Linked DNA regions of Homo sapiens: region 2 is linked to region 1. The links are contacts of gene promoters, found by promoter capture Hi-C in human tissues and cell types (Jung and others, 2019). All regions are on one chromosome and are shown on one strand. Each heading gives the region's core, a stretch centred on a gene start or on the middle of the fragment in contact. The rest is flanking DNA. Distances are from core to core; before and after follow the strand shown. Region 1 holds the start of GPD1 (glycerol-3-phosphate dehydrogenase 1). Region 2 overlaps SMAGP (small cell adhesion glycoprotein).

What was found. The method cuts DNA at HindIII sites, captures the fragments that hold promoters and counts their contacts. A contact is called where the count stands out against the background at its distance.
Region 2: a contact is called between a fragment that was not itself captured here and the fragment with the promoter of GPD1 in region 1, in 1 of the 25 tissues and cell types used here (spleen).

Annotation. Positions count from the first base shown.
Region 1 is chr12:50,100,302-50,105,261 of GRCh38, forward strand. GPD1 (glycerol-3-phosphate dehydrogenase 1) reads left to right here and starts at 3,707. Exons shown (of 8, transcript NM_005276.4): 1 at 3,707-3,790; 2 at 4,273-4,450. The coding sequence starts at 3,750. SMARCD1 (SWI/SNF related BAF chromatin remodeling complex subunit D1) reads left to right here. Exons shown (of 13, transcript NM_003076.5): 13 at 1-406. RefSeq lists an enhancer at 2,717-2,766. The HindIII fragment of the contact is 8,009 bases long and covers 1,635-4,960 here.
Region 2 is chr12:51,249,498-51,254,620 of GRCh38, forward strand. All of the region lies in intron 2 of SMAGP (small cell adhesion glycoprotein), which reads right to left. Among named protein-coding and RNA genes, the nearest start is that of DAZAP2, 13 kb to the left of the region's middle. The HindIII fragment of the contact is 4,561 bases long and covers 1-3,796 here.

The DNA.
Region 1 (4,960 bases), core at 2,457-4,956:
CTGACAAAGCCCCTGCTTCCCCACCCCCTCCTCAGGCTCCTGCGAGCACACCCCCACCCCCAAATCCCTCCCTGTTCTACACTGGGGACAGCAGAATTTTCTCCCCGTCTTCCCCTTCCTGCCATTTTCCCTCCCTTGAAAGGTTGACACTGGACAACCTTGGGGCAGCTGAGCCCTGGCCGCCTCCTGGCTGGAACCATGAGAAGGAAGCTCAGTACTTCCCACAGTGTCCCTGTTGATAACTGTTTTTATTAACTGAATTGTTTTTTTCATGGACCAAACTTTTTTTTGTACTGTCCCCTTATTGATGTTACCCAGTTTTAATAAAAGAATCTTCTGAAGGATGGGTCCTCCTACCTACTGTGAGAGAGCTCTTCCCTGAGCTCTTCTTCCTTCAATACCATTAGCCACGCTTGTAGTGTTTGTTCATTTTATTTGACAAGTATTTATTGAGCACCTGCTATGTGCTAGTTGTGATGCTAGACACGGGAGATAAAGTGGAAAATGAGATTTCTACTTTTGTGGACCTCAGGGTCTTACCTTAAGAGATTGCTGTCTGCCCCAGTGGTCCAAGCAGCCTAGTTGCTGGTTGGGATTATTGGGCTTCACCACTGGATCTTAAGAGCCCTTTCCCGACTTGCTAGGCAGGTACTAACAGGTTGGTGGCAGTCATTTTCCCCCTTGTCCATCTGAGCTCCCCAGAGCACTTGTTGGCTGGAGTGAGCCATAGATGCCCGTGATCCCTTAGGTTTGACGAACCTGAGCCGCCTTTGGAGGAGTTTCACTTCTTCCCCAGGGCTTCTGTTTAGATGTGGGCAGGATCTGGACGACCAAAGACATTTTTGCTTTTTGTGCCTGCTACTCTTTTTTTTTTTTTTTTTTTAGACGGAGTCTCACTGTTGCCCAGGCTGGAGTGCAGTAGCGCGATCTTGGCTCACTGCAAGCTCTGCCTCCTGGGTTCACGCCATTCTCCTGCCTCAGCCTCCCGAGTAGCTGGGACTACAGGCGCCTGCCACCATGCCCGGCTAATTTTTTGTATTTTTTAGTAGAGACAGGGTTTCACCGTGTTAGCCAGGATGGTCTCGATCTCCTGACCTCGTGATCCGCCCGCCTCGGTCTCCCAAAGTGCTGGGATTACAGGTGTGAACCACCGTGCCCAGCCTGTGCCTGCTACTCTAAGGTTCCGCTTTCATGGTTCAAATAAGAGTTCAGTTTTTGTTTGCCTGTTTTGAGATGGAGTTGTGTTCTTGTTCCCCAGGCTGGAGTGCAATGGCGCGTTCTCGGCTTACTGCAACCTCCGCCTCCCAGGTTCAAGTGATTTTCCTGCCTCAGCCTCCTGAGTAGCTGGTTCTTAAGAGCACCATGGAAGTTCTGTGTTGTCATCCTCATACTGTAGACAACTAGCCCCTCCTTGGCAGAGTTTGGAAGACAGCTCAGGAGGGATTCCCATTAGCAATCACTTGAAACTCGCCTGCAGTTCTGCCTGCTTCCCACTTGGAGGCTCATGACTTTTTTCCTTTGTCATTATGCAAGAATGGGGTTTGGAATATAGGATCAGAGTACAACCACTTTCCAAAGTTGTAGTTTAAAAATTATCCTTTGCCTGTTTGGATGGGAACATTCTAGTATTGCCTGTTCAATATATGTAATCAAACCCACCAAAAAATCCAACCACTGTTCCTACTCCGGAACTTGGGGTTTATCAGACTTGAGAAGGGAAAGCAGAGAGGAGTGGTTGGGCCGATAACTAGGAGTGGAGAAAATTGATGTCAAGGACATTGAAATGGCATCTGTTTTTACCCAGGCTAATTACATGTGTAATGAATGGCTGATGAACCATTATTAATTTCAAGCAAATCTACAGTTTGCTCTTGGGAAAAGAGCTCTAGTGATACAGATAACTTCCTGTGATGAGCCGATTCTGAATCTCTGCACCCTCTTTATTCCCATGTAAATGAGCACATTCTTAGTCTCCACACTATCTAAAATGATTGTAGGGGCAAAATGAGAGAGGGAAGCATTTAGGCAAAAACAAGGGGGTTATTTTATGCATAAACATCCATTCTTTGGGGCTCCCATCATTTGTGCCAGGGACAGAAGCATCCTTTCTCTTCCATCACCCGTAATCAGTGCTCCCAGCTGGCAGCCTGGCACTGGAGCCTTCATCTCAGTGCCAGTGCAATAAAGGAGTGGTCTGTGGGAGGCTGTTTCTGTATTAGGTATAACATTGTGCTAAGAAAAACAGCCAACTACTGATTTCATGTCCGTTTCCCTATGGGAAATTACTGGCCATGGAAGGAGAATATGGTTGGTTTTTCCTGGGCAGTCCCCGGAACTTAGAAAGCCATTTCTCCCCAGTCTTGACCTCCTGCCTGCTTACTCCTACCCATGGGTTGCACACAGACTCCCCTGTAGCCCAGTGCTTGTTACCAGTTGCTGGCCAGCAACAGCCCAGGGGGATGGCAACACCCACCTAGCCGTCTGCCAAGCCAGGAGGTCAGCACATGAGCACACAGTGGTGTCTGCCCTCTAGGCCAAGGTGCACAGTGTTAGGAGCCTCTTGCTCCACTCTCCAGATCAGCCTGGAAACCAGAGCTTCCCTCGTCTTAGACAAACAGATGGCCGTGGGCGATGCAGAGCCCTGAACTGCTGAGGGTGCTCCTTCCATTCTCGCCCTTCCCCAAAAAACATACACCAAACTTACCCCCAATCACAGCATCTGAGACCACAAAGCCCCACGGACACAGCTGCCCCGGGTACTGCCTGCCTTCCCCTTTTCTGGCCTCTGCAAACTAGCCATTCACCTGATGAAGCCCCTGGGGCAGTACCTTGGAAACCCCTGAGAGGAGGAGTTGAAGGAGGCTCAAAGCCTTTCAAGGACAGTGTGCACTCTGCCTGCCTCCTATTCTCTCCTGTCCTCTTAAGCCCAGAGTCTACAACAAAATTGTGTACCGCAATTCTCAGAGCTCTCTAACTTTAACCTTTCCCACCTTCCCTAGAACACATTTTTGGGTGGGGATCATCTGAGAGGCCCATGGATGAGTCCCCAAGATGACCTCTGTGGGTGACCAAGACAATCTTGTCTTTTGAGGCACCTGGAGTCTCTCATCCTTTTTTGAGCTGGGCTGTCCTCAAAGCAGGCCCTTACCTCTTATGTGGCCTCATCTTTAGAGGTGGGAAGTGGGCCCACATCCCCCACCCCAGCCCTGCAGTGGAGCTAGCGTGGGCCTGCTGGAGGACAGAACTGTGGAACAGGGTCCTGTGAGGATATGTGGCAGGGTTGGCGGGGGGATAGGGGGTCATGGAGGAGCCTACCTCTGAAAAGCATTCCCCTAGCTGCTACTGAAGCTAAATACAATTTATTTCATGCTGGGGGACAGAAAGGAGCAAGGGAGAGCAGTCACCTGCTCCTTATCTGGGCTATTTTCTTAGCAGACCTCAAAATGAGACCATGGTGGGAAGCTGGGCTGGGGCCAAGGGAAGAAGCTTGCCAGCACTGTCAGCCGATGAGCCCAGGAGAAAAAGCTGGGCCTAGTCTCTGCCCCATTCCTGTTCCACACCTGTCTGTACCCCTGTCTCTCCTTTCCCTGGCTCTGCCAGACTCTCTATCTCCCTGGGCGCCAGCCTCCCCACCCACCCCTGGAGGGCGGGGCTTGGCTGCACCCACGTGTGGTGGAGTTAAATGCTCCTAGCCGGCAGAGGAGCTAGGGAGTGTGGCACTGAGCCGGCTCAGGCAGAGACGCGGCACCATGGCTAGCAAGAAAGTCTGCATTGTAGGCTCCGGGAACTGGTAAGCAGCTCTGTCAAGTGATATGGGGGAAGGGTAGGCCCCCCAAGACAGAGGTGGGTAGGAGGCAGAATGGGTGGGAAAGGCCCTCAGGTTCCTGTTCAGCCCCTGCTGCTATCTTCTATCATAGCAGCACAGGACAGACGGTGCCCGGCCCTCTCCTGACCCCCGCCCTCCTGGGCAGCTGCACCTGTTCACCATGGGAAGGCGTCTCCAGAGCTCTCTATGTGAAGAGCCGCTTGAGTTTGGGGGTGGGAAGATGAGAAGTGGGGCTCCCTTCTCTAGTAGCAAAGGGTGAGGAGACTGAGTCTCCTTTCTACTGCCAGGTCACTGGGGACTATTTGTCATGGGAGTGGAGGTGATAAGGAAGGTAGGTAGGAGTGAACAGCCTGGGGGGCTGCTGTGAGATCCTGAGGTGGGGCGCTGCCCCAACTCCTGCCACTGTTCCCTCCTCCTGTACTTTCCTGTGCTCCCCCTCCCACCAGGGGCTCAGCCATCGCCAAGATCGTGGGTGGCAATGCAGCCCAGCTGGCACAGTTTGACCCACGGGTGACCATGTGGGTATTTGAGGAAGACATTGGAGGCAAAAAGCTGACTGAGATCATCAACACGCAGCATGAGAATGTCAAATACCTGCCAGGGCACAAGTTGCCCCCAAATGTGGTGAGCCCCAACACCCTGCGAAGAACAGGGAGAGGAAGGGAGGGCCAGGAGTTGGAGCCGACCTTACTCAACAGGTGCCTCCTGCTGAGAGGGCCGCTTCAGGTGCAGCAGGACTTGGGAAGGTCTCAGGAGGGCTGCTCTGGGCCCTTTCCTGAGGACTGAGGAGAACCTATGCTTTCCCCTCACAGGCTCCCAGGCGGGTGGGTGGGGAAGGGATGGGAGAACAAGTTGGTCTCCATGGCAGCCAAAGACTGGGCTCCCAGACTTGGGGTCCAGTAGTGCCTGCCTCCGGCACTAATCCTGTTACTCATTCACTGAGTGAGTAGCCGACTTGGAGGCTGCTCCTTGGACTTACGGTCTTTGGTCAAATCCACGTGGCTCTCCCCACCTGGAAAGGGGAAGCAGGGAAGAGAGCAGAAAGGCTGGGGCTCCCCCTTCCCAGCTGGGGTTCCTGAGGAGCTGGGTGATGAAATCTTATTTGAGCTCTTTCTTTTGCCAAGCCCAGGCTGC
Region 2 (5,123 bases), core at 266-2,765, 1.1 Mb after region 1:
AACTGCTTGCTTGCTTGCTGGTGCAGAGAAATTCTCAAATATTTTGGGGTCACAGAAGTCTTCTGTGTCAACTGTTGTGAGAGCTGAGGAAAAATGGTTTTAGAGTTTGTCTAGAACAGTTATACATTTTTTTTTTTTAAGATGGAGTCTTGCTCCATTGCCCAGGCTGGAGTGCAGTGGCGCAATCTCGGCTCACTGCAACTTCCACCTCCTGGCTCAAGCGATTCTTCTGCCTCAGCCTCCTGAGTAGCTGGGATTACAGGTGTGTGCCACCATGCCCAGTTAATTTTTGTATTTTCAGTAGAGACAGGGTTTCACCATGTTGGCCAGGCTGGTCTCGAACTCCTGGCCTCGAGTGATCCACCTGCCTCGGCCTCCCAAAGTGCTGGGATTACAGGTGTGAGCCACTGTGCCTCGCCTATACATATGGATTCATTCATCCATTCTCATCTGTTACCCACAGGAACTATATTAACCAACATTGCAGTTCTATTATGAAGATTAAATGAGAGAACATGTAAACATCATATAGTAGCTACTACTTAAATATTATTTAAGGTGACTTTGTTAATATGCTTAGTGATTAAAAGGGCCAGGCATGGTGGCTCATGCCTGTAATCCCAGCACTTTGGGAGACCAAGGTGGGAAGATCGCTTGAGGCCAGGAGTTTGAGACCAGCCTGGGCAACACAGTAAGACTCTGTCTACAAAAAAAAAAAAAAAAAAAATGTAAAAATTAGCCAGGTGTGGTAATATGCGCCTGTAGTCCCAGATACTCATGAGGCTGAAGTGGGAAGATTGCTTGAGCCCAGGGGGTTAAGCCTGCAATGAGCCAGCACTGCATTACTGAATTGTTGGGCAACAGAGTAATGAGACCCTGTCTCAAAAAAATAAATTAATTAAAGGGAGAGTTGCTCTGGGTTTGAATCCTGCCTAAGCATATTACTAGGTGACCTTGAGGAAGTTACTAAACCTCTCTGAACCTGGTTGTTGTTGTTGTTGTGTTTTTTTTTTGTTTTTTTTTTGTTGTTGTTGTTGAGACAAGGATCTCACTATGTTGCTCAGGCTGGAGTGCAATGGTGCAATCTTGGCTCACTGCGGCCTCAACCTCCTGACCTCAAGCAATCTTCCTGCCTTGGCCTCCCAAAATGCTGGGATTATAAGCGTGTGCCACCACACCTGGCAGTACCTCAGTTTCTTGATTTGTGAAATGGGAGTGTGGTGTACAGCTTCTAAGATGGCTCACAATGATTTCTGCCTCCTGGTATTGACATCTTTGAGCATGCCTCTCCTCTGGTATATGGGTTGAACCTGGTGACTTGCTTTTAACAGATGATGGCAAAAATGATGGCATGTAACTTCTGAGATTAGGTTATACAACACTGTGACTCCCATCAAAGGGAAGCCCTGAAGTTTATCTACCTGGTCATGACTTCACACATTTCACCATGCACTTTCCTCCCCAAATCGCCCAGGGCTGCAATCCATCTTCCTACCATGGATCTAGAGTTCTATACAGTTGTTCCTAGTTTTGCTTTCTTTAAACATTTTGAGAATTTAGGATGTACAAAGCATTGAGAAGATTAATGTATATCAGAAGCTTGAAGATGAGTAATTTGTGTTCAATCATCAACAGTAACTTACTTTGTACATTAGGTTTAGTGTGGTAGCTCACGCCTGTAATCCCAACACTTTGGGAGGCGGAGGCAGGAGGATTGCTTGAGGCCAGGAGTTTGAGACTAATCTGGACAATATAGCAAGACACCATCTCTATTTGTTTTTTAAAAATAATATATGGAGGAGGCTGGGTGCAGTGGCTCACGCCTGTAATTCCAGCACCTTGGGAGGCCAAGGCAGGTGGATCGCTTGAGCCCAGGAGTTGGAGACCAGCCTGGGCAACATAGCCAGACTCCCATCTCTACAAAAAAAAAAAAAAAAAAAAAGTTAGCCAGACATGGTGGCACACACCTGTAGTCCCAGCTACTCGGTAAACTTGAGGTGAGAGGATCACTGGAGCCCAGGAGGTCCAGGCTGCAGTGAGCTGTGATTGTGCCACTGTACTCTAGTCTGGGTGACAGAGTGAGACCCTGTTTCAGAAAAAAAAAAAAAAAGAATAAAGGTGGGAGGAAACCAGATGATCACAATTAAATACAGACAGTTGTGCTACAAAGTGCTTCTTTAACATGAACTGGCTCACTGGTGATAGGTAACTTAAGGGAACGATGTCAGTGTAATGCAGAAGTCATGTTGGTTTATATGTGACTTCTTTATTTTTAGTTTATTTTCAGTTATCTATTCTTTAATTTTTTTAAATTGAGCAGCCCCTAGAACCAAAAGAGGTTCAGAGGACTCCCCACCCTCTTTAGCTTTAATGTTTAACATGATCAGAAGCAAGCTTTCTCACAACTAGAGAATATTTTAGCCATACAGGAAGACCTTAAGAAAAAAATTCTACAGAATGCCTTGCTGCGATGCAGCTATTGGTCAGTTTCCACTTATATGAAGCCATCTGGTGAAGCAGAAAGTGCAGATGAAGAAAGGTGCAAAGAAATTTACCTCAATATTTAAACGATGACAAGAAGGCAGACTCTACATCAGATTTTTTTTTTTTTTTCCAGACAGAGTCTCGCTCTGTCACCCAGGCTGGAGTGCAGTGGCGCGATGTTGGCTCACTGCAACCTCTGTCTCCCAGGTTCTAGCGATTCTCCTGCCTCAGCCTCCCGAGTAGCTGGGACTACAGGCGCATGTCACCACGCCCGGCTAATTTTTTGTATTTTTTAGTAGAGACGGGGTTTCACCATATTAGCCAGGATGGTCTTGATCTCCTGACCTCGTGATCTGCCCGCCTCGGCCTCCCAAAGTGCTGGGATTACAGGTATGAGCCACTGTGCCCGGCCTATTATTATTATTTTTGAGGCCAAGTCTCACTGTGTCACCCAGGCTGGAGTGCAGTGGCTTCATCTCGGCTCACTGCAACCTCCGCCCCCTGGGTTCAAGCAATTCTCCTGCCTCAGCCTCCCAAGTAGCTGGAATTACAGGCATGTGCCACCACACCCGGCTAATTTTTGTATTTTTTAGTAGAGACAGTTTTGCCATGTTGGCCAGGCTGGTCTCAGACTCCTGACCTCAGGTGATCCGCCCTCCTCAGCCTCCCAAAGTGTTGGGATTACAGGCGTGAGCCACATCGCCCCCCGAAGGACAATTTAAAAAGCATTATATTTGCAACAAGAACAAAGAAAAAGCTAGGCTTCTTTGGGCCTGAGGGGTCAGGTTGGAGGTAACAGAGAAAGCAGAATTCCCTCAGGCCTTTTCACCTCTGTTTCCTATCAAAGAGAATCATTTTTTTGCACTAAGGAGCAGTGGAGCCTTTGGGGACATGGGGGAAGTGAGCTCAAGAGAAGCAAAGAAACCCAGCAAGCACCAGACTAATCTAAAAGGGACCAGATATGACAGCCAAAGGCACTGCAAGAACTTGTAAATGGGATTTCTGTTGGTGACATAGGAGCTTCTGAGAAAGAGAAAGGGGTCGGGAACCTGAAGGGGCCATGGAAGGAAGGTGGAGTCCATAAAGCAATGGTGAGCTTGATGTGACTCCCCAGCAAAGTTCTAGAACACACTATTACGGCCTGTTTGGGGGGCTTTGAACTCGAAACAGCAAGCATTAGAAGTCAGAATGGGACTACTGAGAGCAAGCTGGGTCAGATAAGCTGCACAGCCTTCTTAGACTGAGATTCCAGGTTCCTAGACAGGGAAATTAAACAGTTAGTTCAACAAGAATTTACTGAGTGTGTACTCTGTGCCAGGCTCTGGGCTTCTATCAGTGAACAACACAGGCAAAAACCCTTACCTTTAAAGTTCCTGCCAGGATTAAACAGAATTACCCAGCAATCTCATTGCTGGGTGGGTATGATCCCGCAATCCCACTTCTAGGTATATACCCAAAAGAAATGAATGGACTTCAACTGATACTTGTATATCATGTTCATAGGAGCATTATGCAATAGCTAAATAAAAGGTGAAATAACCCAAATGTCCAACAGTAGATAAATGGATAAACAAAATGTGGTATATACATACCCTTAAAGAGGAAGGAAATTCTAAAAAAAAACAAAAAACAAAAAAGGAAGGAATTCAGACATATACTACAACATGGATGAACCTTGAGGACATGACACTAAGTGAAATAAGCCAGGCACAAAAGGACAAACATTCCAGCCTGGCCAACGTGGTAAAACCCCGTCTCTACTAAAAATACAAAAATTAGCCGGACGTGGTGGCAGGTGCCTGTAATCCCAGCTACTTGGGAGGCCAAGGCAGGAGAATCACTTGAACCCGGGAGGTAGAGGTTGCAGTGAGCCAAGATCATGCCACTGCACTCCAGCCCAGGCGAAAGAGCGAGACTCTGTCTCAAACAAAAAAAAAGAGGACAAACATTGTATGATTCCACTTATATGATGTGCTTAGAGCAATCAAATTCATAAGACAGAAAGTACTACAGGAGATTGTAAGGGGCTGGAGAAGGGGAAAATGGGGAGTTAATGTTTAATGAGTATAGAGTTTTAGTTTGGGAGGATGAAAAAGTTCTGGAGATGCATAGTGGTGTTGGTGAAGGTATAACAACATGAATGTACTTAATACTGCTGGACTGTACACTTGAAAATGGTTAAAATGGTCAATTTTATGTTATGTATAATTTTACCACAATTAAAAAACCCTCTGTTTATATAATTTACATTTTTAGAGGGGGAAGACAGACAATAAATAAAATAAGGCCGGGCGCGGTGGCTCATGCCTGTAATCCCAGCACTTTGGGAGGCCGAGGCGGGTGGATCATGAGGTCAGGAGTTTGGCACCAGCCTGACCAACATGGCAAAACCCCGTCTCTACTAAAAATACAAAAATTAGCTGGGTGTGGTGGCGTATGCCTGTAGTCCCAGCTACTCAGGAGGCTGAGGCAGGAGAATCACTTGAACCCAGGAGGCGGAGGCTGCAGTGAGCCGAGATTGCACCACTGCACTCCAACCTGGGTGACAGAGAGAGACTCCATCTAAAAAAAAAAGTAAAAATAAATAATTAAATAAGTAAAAGATATGCTATATTAGACGTTAATTAGCGCTATGTAGA